Linked DNA regions of Homo sapiens: regions 1 and 2 are each linked to region 3. Evidence: promoter capture Hi-C in 16 types of primary human blood cells and fetal thymus (Javierre and others, 2016). All regions are on one chromosome and are shown on one strand. The core of a region is centred on a gene start or on the middle of the fragment in contact, and the rest is flanking DNA. Distances in the headings are between cores, read along the strand shown.

Region 1 (3,456 bases), core at 135-2,634, 5.0 Mb after region 3:
GGGCAGCCTCACTGTCAAATTCTTTGTCCCAATGTTGCCACACTACGTGTTCTGATTTGGGGTTCAAAAAATATGGTTACCAGGGGAAGCAAAAGCAAAAGCCCATTGCTATGGGTGACACCTAAAAACTGGGGAGTACTACTTTAAAAAAAAAAGTTGAGAACTTTCAGAAGAATTCACTATAAACAATTCCCAATTTTTAGTTCCTCGCTCCCTTTGAATGGAATACTCAAAGGTTTAATTTGACCTCCTTGACAACTAGCCCTTTTTATGGGGATGAAAATAGATCAGTGCATGTGATGTGTCATTACACTCGAATATTTCGCACAGTAACCGCGCCAGAAGCATTCGTTAAATCGGCACTATCAACTTTAATTCTTACTCCTCCCCGCTGCCATCTAAGATAGGACAGCCCTCTATTTTCGCTATTCTGGAGTAGCCAACATTCCAGTCTGCAGGACTGAAGTGAAATTTAATCGTTCGTATCTTTTTAAGGGAACCTTTTTACAGCGAACTTGGAAAAGTAATGCCAGCCATACGTTGAATGACACCATGTTGGGAGTTGTAAAACCACAAACTCAGTGCCTGGCCGTCCGGGAGATGGAATTCCAACAGCGGCTCCTCATTGCACCAAACTAACAATTTCTCTACACGACAGTGCATCTTAATGGGGATGGTTACACACTTTTTAAATAGTCAACACTGTCCCCTCCAACTCCCAGCCGGACATGACACTCCTTCCCCACCCAAGAACTCCAGAGCGAAGGAAGTCTTTTGGCCACCTTAGTGCCTCCTCCCAGCCAGCACCAATGACTGACAGTGTCCCCAGGCGCCCAGCGAGGGTCCCAAGCGAGGCCAGGACCCAAAGGCTGCCCAAGTCTCCGCGTCCCAGGACTTCCTGAAGTCGTAGCCCGGTGCCCCCGCACCCCGCCTCCTCCGACTCCTGCGGCCCGGTTCCTTAGTCCAAACCCGCTGTCCCGGCCCCGCGGCCCGCCAGTCCCCTCGATTCTTCCCCAGACAAACCCGGAACCGGGCGCGGGCTCAGGCCCAAGCCAGGCCGCGGGCTCCCCCAGCGCTCGCCCCACCTCCCGAGCCGCTCCGGGACAGGCGCCCGGGCGCAGACGGGAAAGCGCGGGGGGCCTGGTCCGGGAGCCCACTTCCTGGCCGGGGCAGGGCAGGACTCACCTTCGTACTGCAGATCCACCAGGACTAGCAGGAAGGGGAATACCGAGCCCAGCCGGCTGGTCACGGAGCCGGGGGCCACCATGTCCGAGGGCTCGCGAGTGAAGAGGAGGAAAGGTGTGTGGCCCACCAGCACGCGCCGGCGCTCCGGCAGCAGCTGCGCCCGCCCGCCGTCGGCTCTCGCTCAGGCCTCAGTGGCTCTGGAGCCCAGCAGAGGAAGGCAGCGGTGGGCGGGGCCCGGGCGACGCTACGCCCCAGAGCGCCGCCGCCATCCAATCGCCTTCTTTCTGGCGGCTTTCCTCCCGGGCTCGCCGGGGTCGTGGTTCGCGCTGATAGGCTGCGGAGGCCGCCGCCCCGCCCCGTCCCTGATAGGATAACGTGGAAGCACGAGACGAGGCTGCGCCCGCCGGTCGCAGAGCTGTCAGCAAGCTCCAAACCGCGGCTGCCGCCCGGAGGGAAGCAGACGGGGAGTCGGTGGCGGCCGCCGAGTCCGCATGCGCAGGCTGCAAAGGCCCTTTTGGGCCGGTCCCGCCGCGCTAGGTTGGCGAGTGGGACTATTTGATCCTTTCCAGGTTCGCCAGCGTGGTGTTACGAGAGGAAAGCGCAGCCGCAGCGTACGAATGGGAAGGCCAAACACGGTCCCGGGGAGTCTGAGGGAAGCTGCAGGGCGCCTGGAATTGGGGTCTCGAGTGAGCCGGTAAAAACCGCCTCCCGCTGAGCGTCCCGGAACAAATACTGTCTGAACTGAGCCGTAAGCAAGAAACGGTCAGGAGAAGCTGGGGCGATCTGATGATTAGAACATTTCAGGGACTACCAGAGAGAAGTGCGTAATTGCTCTAAGGCAGGTAGGTAATTGGCCTGGAAACTTGGGAACGCCCCGCCCCCCACCCCGACTTTCAGCAAACCACCGTGCCCAGGAAAAAGAGCGATTGTGGAAGACCCTGTGAAGAAGAGACCAGGAAGGCACTGTGGCTTAAGAGAGCAAGGCGTTCCTGAATGCAGCCAACATCAACTGGTAAACAAAAAACTGTGAGAACGGATCCTGAATCTTGCGCTTACCAGGGGAAATTCAGGAGAGATATGAACCTGAGCAAGATGAGGTTGAAGTTACTCAATGCGGCATTAAGCCTGTTCACGGCCACTTCCTCCGGCGTCACCAACACACACACTGTACACCAGCAGTATTTTTACACGGGGTATGTGTGTTAAGTACTATCAGGTGGATAATTATTACTTCACCTGTATTTGCTGCCTTGATACCATTAGAGAAACTCATGAATTATAAATAGCATAGTGAATTTGTGATTCCCTGAAGATATACTAAGGTGGACTTTTAAAAAGGCTTCTATTCCAAAGGGAACTAATATGGAGGAAATGGTTTCGAGAAAGAAAAAAGAAAAAACGGAGTCCTTGATTAGTTGTGGGGAAGGCAACATAATGTAATGTGAAGAATAAAGGAGTCAGATCCAGGAAACCCCATAACTATTATGTAAGTTATCTTCATCTGTAAAGTGGTTAGGATCCTGATAGTCTCAAAGGTTTGTTTTGAGGTTTCATGAAGCAGATAAATATTCTTGTAAATTGTAGAATGTTATACCAGTGTTACTCATTATTCTAACAAGAGCAGAGTAGTGAAGAGAGGCTCCTTCAGAAATTCCTTGGGATTTTTTTTTTTTTGGCTTCTGTTTTTTTATATCACAAGGTAGTGTCTCTGAAAAATGGTAGATGATTTCAATGTCCACAAATATGCAGGTGTAGACATTCAATTGAGGTACTGTACCCAAGGCAGCCAGCAAAATGCTGAACATAGAAAATAACTTTGTAAACAAAATGCAATATTTCTAGACAGTGAGTTATCACCAGTGTGCTGCCTATGACCCTGGCCTTAAGGAAAAAGTAGCAGAGCTGAAGAAGTTCTAAGGATGGAAATTAAAAATTATTAAGGAGATAATAGACTTCGTGTTATAGGAAATAAAAATAGCAAGGGTCTTCAATGGTGAGTGATTTTGAGATTAATTACATAACTATGAATTCTGTAATATTAGAACTAAGCTTTACAAAGCATTCCTTAAAAAAAGATAATTTTACAACAAAGGTAACATTAGACAGAAAAAAATGTACAAAACTAAAATTAAGTGATTAATGCTTGGGAATGTTTCCTCCAATGTTCATCTAGTCATGGTTTTCACGAATCACTCTTGCCAATAAAACCGAAAATCAAAGTAATCTAGTGAGTGTAAGAAAAGTTACTGTAAATATGTTTGCATTCGTCAG
Region 2 (3,775 bases), core at 1,276-3,775, 3.5 Mb after region 3:
AACGCTTTGATTTCCTTGGAAATTTCATTTGTTGAACTAAGAAAAAGTATCCCTAAAAAATTTACATGAGCACAAAGTAGAGTGAAGGGTTTTGTGTATATGACTATGTATCTTAATACTCTAAGGTGTTTGCCAACAGTTTCTTAATACCGAGGTTTTATCCCTTTGTACTTTAAATAGCTCAATGTGCCAAGAGACAAACAACTTTTTTTTTTTTTTTTTTTTTTTTGGTAAAAGGTCAAGGTCTCAAAATGCTAAATGATGAGGGAAAGTGTAGCAAGTATGATTCAATTCTATTAAAAGACAGAAAAATCAAGGTAGGCACTTGCTCAAAACTACGTGAGTAGTCAGAGAGGAGACACAAATTAGCTTTGGGAACTCCCGAGAACTCCAATGTGCTCCAGTCAAAATCTTTTTTAAAAGGTTCCTTTGTAAACATTACCCTTCCCCCGATCTCTGTGACCAAGGTTGCCACCTGTGACATGGATTTGCAGCCTGCAGTATTGTACTTCCCCTGCTTGGGGCCATCTGTGCTAGGACATGATGATTTTTCTATGAAAGCAGCTGTTCTCACCATCACAACCAGCCTTGAACTTGGTGGCACAACCTGGATCCTAAATAGTGGCTCTGGAGCAACTGGGAATAGGGCCCCGGGGACCATCCACCCAGGTGGCAGCGCTGGGCTGCACCAAGGGGGAGTCAGGCCAGAAAAAAAGCTTTGCCCTGCTCCCTGCTGCTTTTTGCCAGCCCAGCCAGAAGCCCTGCAGAAAACCTGTGCTGACCGGCCCGACATGTGGCAGGTACAAGAAGATGCCCTATTTATGAGGGGACAGGTTTACAATTTACAAAAGACAGGCGAAAATATAAAGACATAACTTAAGTCCTGCCAGTGGGGAGTTAGAATGTTCCTGGCCAGGACATAAAGAAATATTCCTCTCCACAAGCTCGAATAAAGGAACACACAGCAGAAATAGTTGGGGGATGACGTCAGAAGTTCTGGGCTAGTGTCCTGCACTTCTCCTTGAAAGTAAAAACAGTGGGTCTAGAAGAATCTACGTGGCATTGCCCTTATTTAAATGAGTAGTTCTACTGCTCCTTGCAAAACAAGTAGGATAGCTGAAGAAACTTCCTCTTATTTAAAGATTATAAGAATGTTCCCCCTGCCTTTTTTAAAAACCTTATTGTCCCCAAAACACACACATTACCCAATTAACAAATAGCTTTCCACTTAACCTTTGTCTTTTAAAGGGACAGTAATGTTTCTTGTAGAACATTCAAGGTGGTGGTGGTTAGGCAAGTCAGATTTTTTTCTTCGCTTCAGTGCTTGCTAACTATTCTAAAAATGTTACACATTTATTGTAAACACATGCTTCCGAGGCCTAACAAAAAAGCACAGTTTCCTCATGCCTGGCAGAAATTTAAAACGGAAAAGGGCAGAAAGAATTCTTTAGCAAATATATCCTTTCCTTCTCCTGGGCCAAGTGTGTTAAAAATAAATCTTCTCCATCATTTCTCACTGCTGCTTCTCAGCGAGAAAGTTGATATGGTTCGGCATAGTGAAAACACAGCTTTAAAAGCTAGCCTGCCCTCATTAAATTATTCTGCTGGCTGTGTGTTCTCATTAAAAATGCATAAAGATCAGATAATTGCAGTAAGCATTATTAACCCAGCTTTACTTTTGAATATAATGGTTCCACTTTTAAGCTGGAAACAAAGGCTCAGACATGCCAGGAAAAGAAATGTAAACATTGAACTACAGTATCGAAAACTTGCCAGAAAGCTACCTCTTGCTAGGTTGTTTAAAATGTGCTTTTGAAACTCAATTAAAGCTGTAGCATTGTAGAGCTAGGTAGGTCCCTAATTTTTAATAAATAGACACATACGTTTGGCCAAACATTCAACCGATGATTATTTACCATGAATTTTTTTTTAATCCTTAATTGCAAGTCTGTTTTCAAATAATAGGATCCATGTAAACTTTATCTATTTGGGAACTAGCTATGGCAATATAACAATTTTTCACAGCAAGAAAATAAGATTGCTCCAAAGAATTCAAATGGTTTTTAAAAAATAATATAATAAATGAATCGATTCTTTGCATAAAAACTCGATTTCTTGCCTCACCCCAAACAGGCGGCATAGATTCAAGCTTTGCCATTTCTTTTTCTCAAATCAAAATGTTACGTAAAACTCCAGGGTCCCCCGCAAGTATTACAATTGAATTAGTGGAATCCAGTTTCCCTGGCTCCCGTAAGCAGCACACATGGAATGCAGCATACTGCAGCAAACTCTTTAAACATTCAAAAAAGGGGGGCGATTCTCCTACCTTGTTTAGCTCTGCCTGTCCTTCCCATTTACAGTAACCCCAGGAACATCTGGCAGAACCAAGTGGCCGAGGCTTCTCCACCGCATCATGAGAAAGAAACTTCCATGTAAATAGTTCTCATTCCCTGTTTATTGTACTCTGAAAGCCGTCTGCCGTATCTGGAAAATTTTACCTTCAGATGATGAAGCAAAGACAGTCTAAACTCTGTTGCTGTAAGCTGCAGCCCTTCCTTCCGACAAATCCCTCCCAGCCGGGGCCAGCCAATCCCCAGCCAGCTCGTCAGCCCTACTCGTCTGAAACTGGCCCTAATAGGATGACTGACACAGTAACACAGCACTTGCAGTGTGTAAAAACAGTGCATCCATACTGATGAAAGAGGAATTTCCCTCTCAGAAGAAAGCAATCATAGCACCAAGACAAAGTGGCACATAATTGGCAGAGCAGAGAGAGGGGTAGCTCAAGAAAACACCCTTGAAGACAGCCAGCTCGAAGCCAGGAGCTTCACCGTGAACACTTGGGAAAATGTGAAACTCCGCAGATTCCAAAGAAATCCAGGTTGTACATGAAACTGAAGTCCTTGGACTATCTGACAAAGCATATGTATATGTTTTTTAAAGGAAAAATAATTCAACGTCTGCCATGGCAGTTAATACCTTACAAAACATTTACATATTTCCATTATTGAGGAAGAATGTGCTAGCCCAAGTGCGTATTCAAAATCAAAACATGCTTATAGCTCTGGCACACACAGGTTTCCTGTATAACATCTGTTATTGCAGTGGTTAATTACTGCGGCCCATTTATCTTTCGTCTAAGTTTTCAGACCACTTGGGACTTCGATTAGGGAATGCTGGACAATAAAATTGATATCTATACACTACCCTTTTCTACTCTTGGCAGGCACCCACGAGAGGATTAGGTGTGCTTTAACCATCTTAGATGCCATTTGATAAATACTGTGCATTGGCTCACATTATCGTTAATGAAGCAATGATTATAGGAAGATGTTTACTGTTGAATACAAGGGGTACATGATCCAAGGGCCCCCATGAGGTGCCATTCCACAAAAGATGTTCTAGGAGGTGCTGGAGTTTCCTGAGATAAAGCAGAAGAAGAGAAAGTTTAGGAAGGGTTATTTATTTATTTATTTATTTATTTATTTCCCAGTCTACAGCATTTCTGTATGCCTTGAAAACAAAAACTCAAAAACATATGGCATTGAGCAAACACAACAAGCATACATTTTCCTCCCCTAAATACCACATTTTGAGAAAAAAAAAGTATGATGATTACATGATGAGACCAAGACAGAACAAAGCCTTTATTCATCTGAAAGGTTGAACCCAATGCACGATTTTTATAAGCAACTGTTCAGCGCATCTGTAATGAAGCAACAGAATGCAATGGAATGCTTTCTTTTTATTTTGCCATTGCATCTTAAAAACATAA
Region 3 (3,846 bases), core at 1,214-3,713:
GGACAGAAAACCAAACACCACATGTTCTCACTCATAGGTGGGACTTGAACAATGAGAACACATGGACACAGGGTGGGGAACCTCACGCACCCACACCGGGGCCTGTCAGGGGGTGGGGTGCTGGGGGAGGGATAGCATTAGGAGAAATACCTAATGTAAATGACAACTTGATGGGTGCAGCAAACCAACATGGCACATACATACCTATGTAACAAACCTGCACGTTCTGCACATGTACCCTAGAACTTAAAAGTATAAAAAAAAAAACTGACTAAAATCTCATCTGCTTTTTATTTCCACCTATATATACAACCATATGTGTGTTATAAATGTTTCTGATATAAAGGATGTGTAATAAACAATACACAAGTAAAAGGCAGACACTCTTTATTGTCAGTTCTATCTACTTGACTGATTCTCACAGAAAGCTTTGCTTCTTTTTTGCCAAAGGCTTGTATCTGAATCCATCCAATGCTTGTAACTCAACCATGATGTGACTAGTGAAATTACATACCGATCCACTTTTTGCCAACAAATTTATTGTCCTTAAATCTGATATGTGATCTGTTAAACTACTTCTTACCCTTGTATAAACTCATTAAACTGCAATCTTGTTTCAGCACTAAACACATTTTTAAGTTTAATCTACATTATTAACATCTTCCCCATCACTTTCTGAAGTCTAGAGACAATCAGCAAAACAAATCGATCCCTGATTCATGATTCATAATGTTGGCTAATTTCCATGGTGTAAATACTTCGACCATGGCCCATTACAGTCTACCAACGAGACATCACTGAGTGTGGGCCGGGAAAACGCACGTGCAGTAAGCACATTATGATACGTAATACTGGAAATGGTAGGAAGTGGACAGACTTCAGAGTTATTTAGGAAGTAGAATCTTGGCGATTTGTTAGATGCCGAGGTGAAGGCAGAGTTTGGGAAACACTGGATAGTGGTGTCTTCACTATCACAGGGAGACAGGGAGTTGAAAGCAAGCAGGGAAAGGACGCATTCAGTTTTGGATGGGTTCCATTTGAGGTGCTTGTTACCAGGAGTAGCTGAATAGGAAGCTAGATAAACGGATTTGGAGCTCAGAGGAGCAAAGATTAGAGTTGCAAATTTGGGATATATTGATTTAAATGTTGACAGCAGGTTAAATCATTCAGGGAAAAATTGTGGAGTAAGAGGAAAGGTCTGAGACCTTGAAAACTCTGTTATTTGGTGGTCACCCAGAGTAGACAAGCACGCCAAGACTGGGGACAGACAGGAAAGTGGAGCACCCCCGCCACAGGAAGACGTGTTTTAAGGAGAAAGAAGGAATTTTGCTCAGATCAGTTAACACGAGAAAGGAGAGTGTCCTTTGACTTTAGTGATGTGGATGCTACTTGCGACAATTAAAAAGGCAATTTCACCGAGTGTGAAAACGAACACGTGGAGTTGAGAGACCACAAAACTGGGGGCAGGCGCCTCTTTCACCAACTTCAGCGATGGAAAGTAGAAGAGGGTGGCAGCAAGGGTACGTGGAGTAGAGAATCTTGGAATGATGAAATGCCGAGGATACGGATTCCAGTCCAGAGGGAGCAACGGATCGGATTCTGCGATACTGGAAAAACAGAAGGTGGGGGGGGGGGCTCGGTGATGGAGGGAGCAGGTGTGCAGTTTTGCCGGTGGAAAGTGGAAGTTTCTCTTTTCTCCTGAAGCAGGCGGCAAAGACCTCTGAGAGTGGGAGTGTGGTGGGTGTGCCGGGCCCCTGGATGGGAGTGGAGGTTTGGAACCAAGTGGCCCGAGCCTGCGGTGAGTGGGCCCGCCCTGGGTGGCTCTGGCCGCAGCAGGGTCGATGGGGCGGCATGGTCTCGGCGGGAAGAACACGGCTTCAGTCAGTTCTGTTCTAAGAAGCAGAAGGTGGAGATACGCATGTTTTAAACAACTCCTCCCGGACAGGAAGAAGTGGAGTTCTGGCTGTTCTGCGAGGACGCCGCAGTCCCAGCGTGGAGACCACCGCGCAGGCGAAGCGCGAGACAGGCCAGAAATAGGGTCCCGCGCGCGGACCCCGGAGGAAAAGCGAGGGCTCACTCGGTTTCCCGCAGCCAGCCTCGCCCGACCCAGCTGGGGCCGCCCCTTCCCGCCCCGGCCCCGCCTCCGCCTCAGCTCCGCGCCCACAACCCGGCTTCCTCCTCTCCCGCCGGGTCCGTCTGTCCCTGCGCCTCCTTCGCCGCCGACTAGCGCCCCCTGGCCTGACGTCACCGGCGCGTCCGCCAATGAGCTGAGGAGGGACTTGGCTGTGGCCTGAAAGTGACGGGAGCAGCAGCCAATGGTCGGGCGGAGGGGGCGGGCCGAGACTGGTGCTGGGGGGCGCCCGCGCGCGTGGGGAGCTGCGGGAGGCGCGGCGCGGGGGGGGTCGGGTGCGCGGCGGGCGGCCCCTCCCCCTGCCAGGTCCGGGCGGGTGCCTGGAGCCGCCAGAGTTTCCGCACCCGGGAGGGAGATGCGGCCGGGGCTCAGGCTCCTTGCAGGTAACGCGCGGGGCGGCCCCTGCAGGGCCGAGCGCGCCGCGGGGCGAGCGGAGTTGGACGCGGAGCGGGCGCGGGTTCCCCGCTGCCGCCGTGTCCCGAGCCCCGCACGGCGGCCCGGGCCAGAGCGGCGCTGCTGGAGGAGTTGGTTCCGGGACCTGAGCTGCGGCCCGGGCCGGGGTCACGGGGGACGCGGGCCCCTGTGTGAGCCGCACATGGGACAAAGGGCGCGGCGTGGAGGCTGCGCGCCCCGCCCGCCGCGCTCGGGCCCCTGAGCTTCTCCGCCCGGGCAGAGGTCGCCGCCCCCAGCCCCTGCCTGCACAGCCGCGCCGGCGCTCCCTCGGCCCGGGCGCACCCGGCGCCTGCGGCGCGTCCCCGGAGCGGCCATCTGGCCGCGGGGCCCCGCGCCTGGCCGCCAGCTGGCCGCGGCGCAGGCGATGGCTGGACACAGCCGGGCCGCTTGGCCGCCTGCCCTGGGTTCCGCGGCGGCTCCCCCGCCGCGCCGCGAGCGCCTGCTACTCCACGCTCGGCTGCGGAGCGGAGCGGCGCGAGCGCGGGGCCACCGGCCCGGGCGCCCGGGGCCACCGAGCCGCCGCTTCCCGGCGTGGGCTCGGAGTTTGGGGAAGCCGAGCAGGTGGCGCAGCCACTGCCCACCTCCTGCGAACTCTGCGGGGCTTCTGGTCTTGTTGATGTTGTGGCTATGGGCTGCGTGTGTGTTTTTCTTTTTTTTAAACCACACACAAAAGAAGGGAGGAGTTAGAGGAACGATCTAGCCACTATGAGTCATCCCACACTTCGCTCTTTCCCCGGGAGAGCAAATAAATGCATGGGGAGAATGTCTTGAGAAACAGTTATAGTAGGGACTGACTAGGTCCCCTCCCTGTCCCTTTTCTCTGCAGTCCTGTCTGCGCCGGGCGCGCCCCAGATGGAGTGGGGTAAAATCACGGCCAGTGCACCTAGATAGGGGAAATGGCTACAAGCTAGCAAACTGGAAACTTTCTGGGACAGTGGAACTGTGAATATCAAACCACACACATTCTTGCTATAGGCAGCCATGGCCCTCGTGCGCTACTGAATTATAAAATGGGAAGGCCGTCACAGCAGGACGATACCTTAGCCTTCAGTAGCATGTATTCAGCACTGCACGGAGGAGGGCGGTGGTGGTGGCTCGCGCCCCTGCCTTGAGGGGCCCAGGGTCTGATCAGTCAGGAAACTGCCAGGCCCAGGGATGCAGGGTCACAAACGATTGTGTTCTCTAATCTGATTCCCAGAGGCGCTGTCACCTCTCAGCGTGCATAGGATGGCTGGCTATGTGATTGAATGTTACAGATGAGG

The links. The method cuts DNA at HindIII sites, captures the fragments that hold promoters and counts their contacts. A CHiCAGO score of 5 or more calls a contact.
Region 1: a contact is called between the fragment with the promoter of DNAJC3 here and the fragment with the promoter of TMTC4 in region 3, in 1 of 17 cell types (total B cells). The highest score is 5.2, in total B cells.
Region 2: a contact is called between the fragment with the promoter of MBNL2 here and the fragment with the promoter of TMTC4 in region 3, in 1 of 17 cell types (activated CD4 T cells). The highest score is 6.4, in activated CD4 T cells.

Annotation. Positions count from the first base shown.
Region 1 is chr13:95,675,067-95,678,522 of GRCh38, reverse strand. It overlaps DNAJC3 (DnaJ heat shock protein family (Hsp40) member C3), which reads right to left and starts at 1,384. Exons shown (of 12, transcript NM_006260.5): 1 at 1,186-1,384. The coding sequence starts at 1,267. It overlaps DNAJC3-DT (DNAJC3 divergent transcript), which reads left to right and starts at 1,598. Exons shown (of 2, transcript NR_132117.1): 1 at 1,598-2,671. RefSeq lists silencers at 1,004-1,093, 1,324-1,563 and enhancers at 1,204-1,253, 600-1,446, 2,084-2,183, 1,447-2,294. The HindIII fragment of the contact is 3,320 bases long and covers 1-3,236 here.
Region 2 is chr13:97,221,083-97,224,857 of GRCh38, reverse strand. It overlaps MBNL2 (muscleblind like splicing regulator 2), which reads right to left and starts at 2,525. Exons shown (of 9, transcript NM_001382683.1): 1 at 2,327-2,525. RefSeq lists an enhancer at 2,444-2,503. The HindIII fragment of the contact is 4,024 bases long and covers 2,152-3,775 here.
Region 3 is chr13:100,673,412-100,677,257 of GRCh38, reverse strand. TMTC4 (transmembrane O-mannosyltransferase targeting cadherins 4) reads left to right here and starts at 2,463. Exons shown (of 19, transcript NM_032813.5): 1 at 2,463-2,514. RefSeq lists enhancers at 1,793-1,872, 3,198-3,846 and silencers at 2,063-2,562, 2,593-2,952, 3,003-3,082. The HindIII fragment of the contact is 7,703 bases long and covers 431-3,846 here.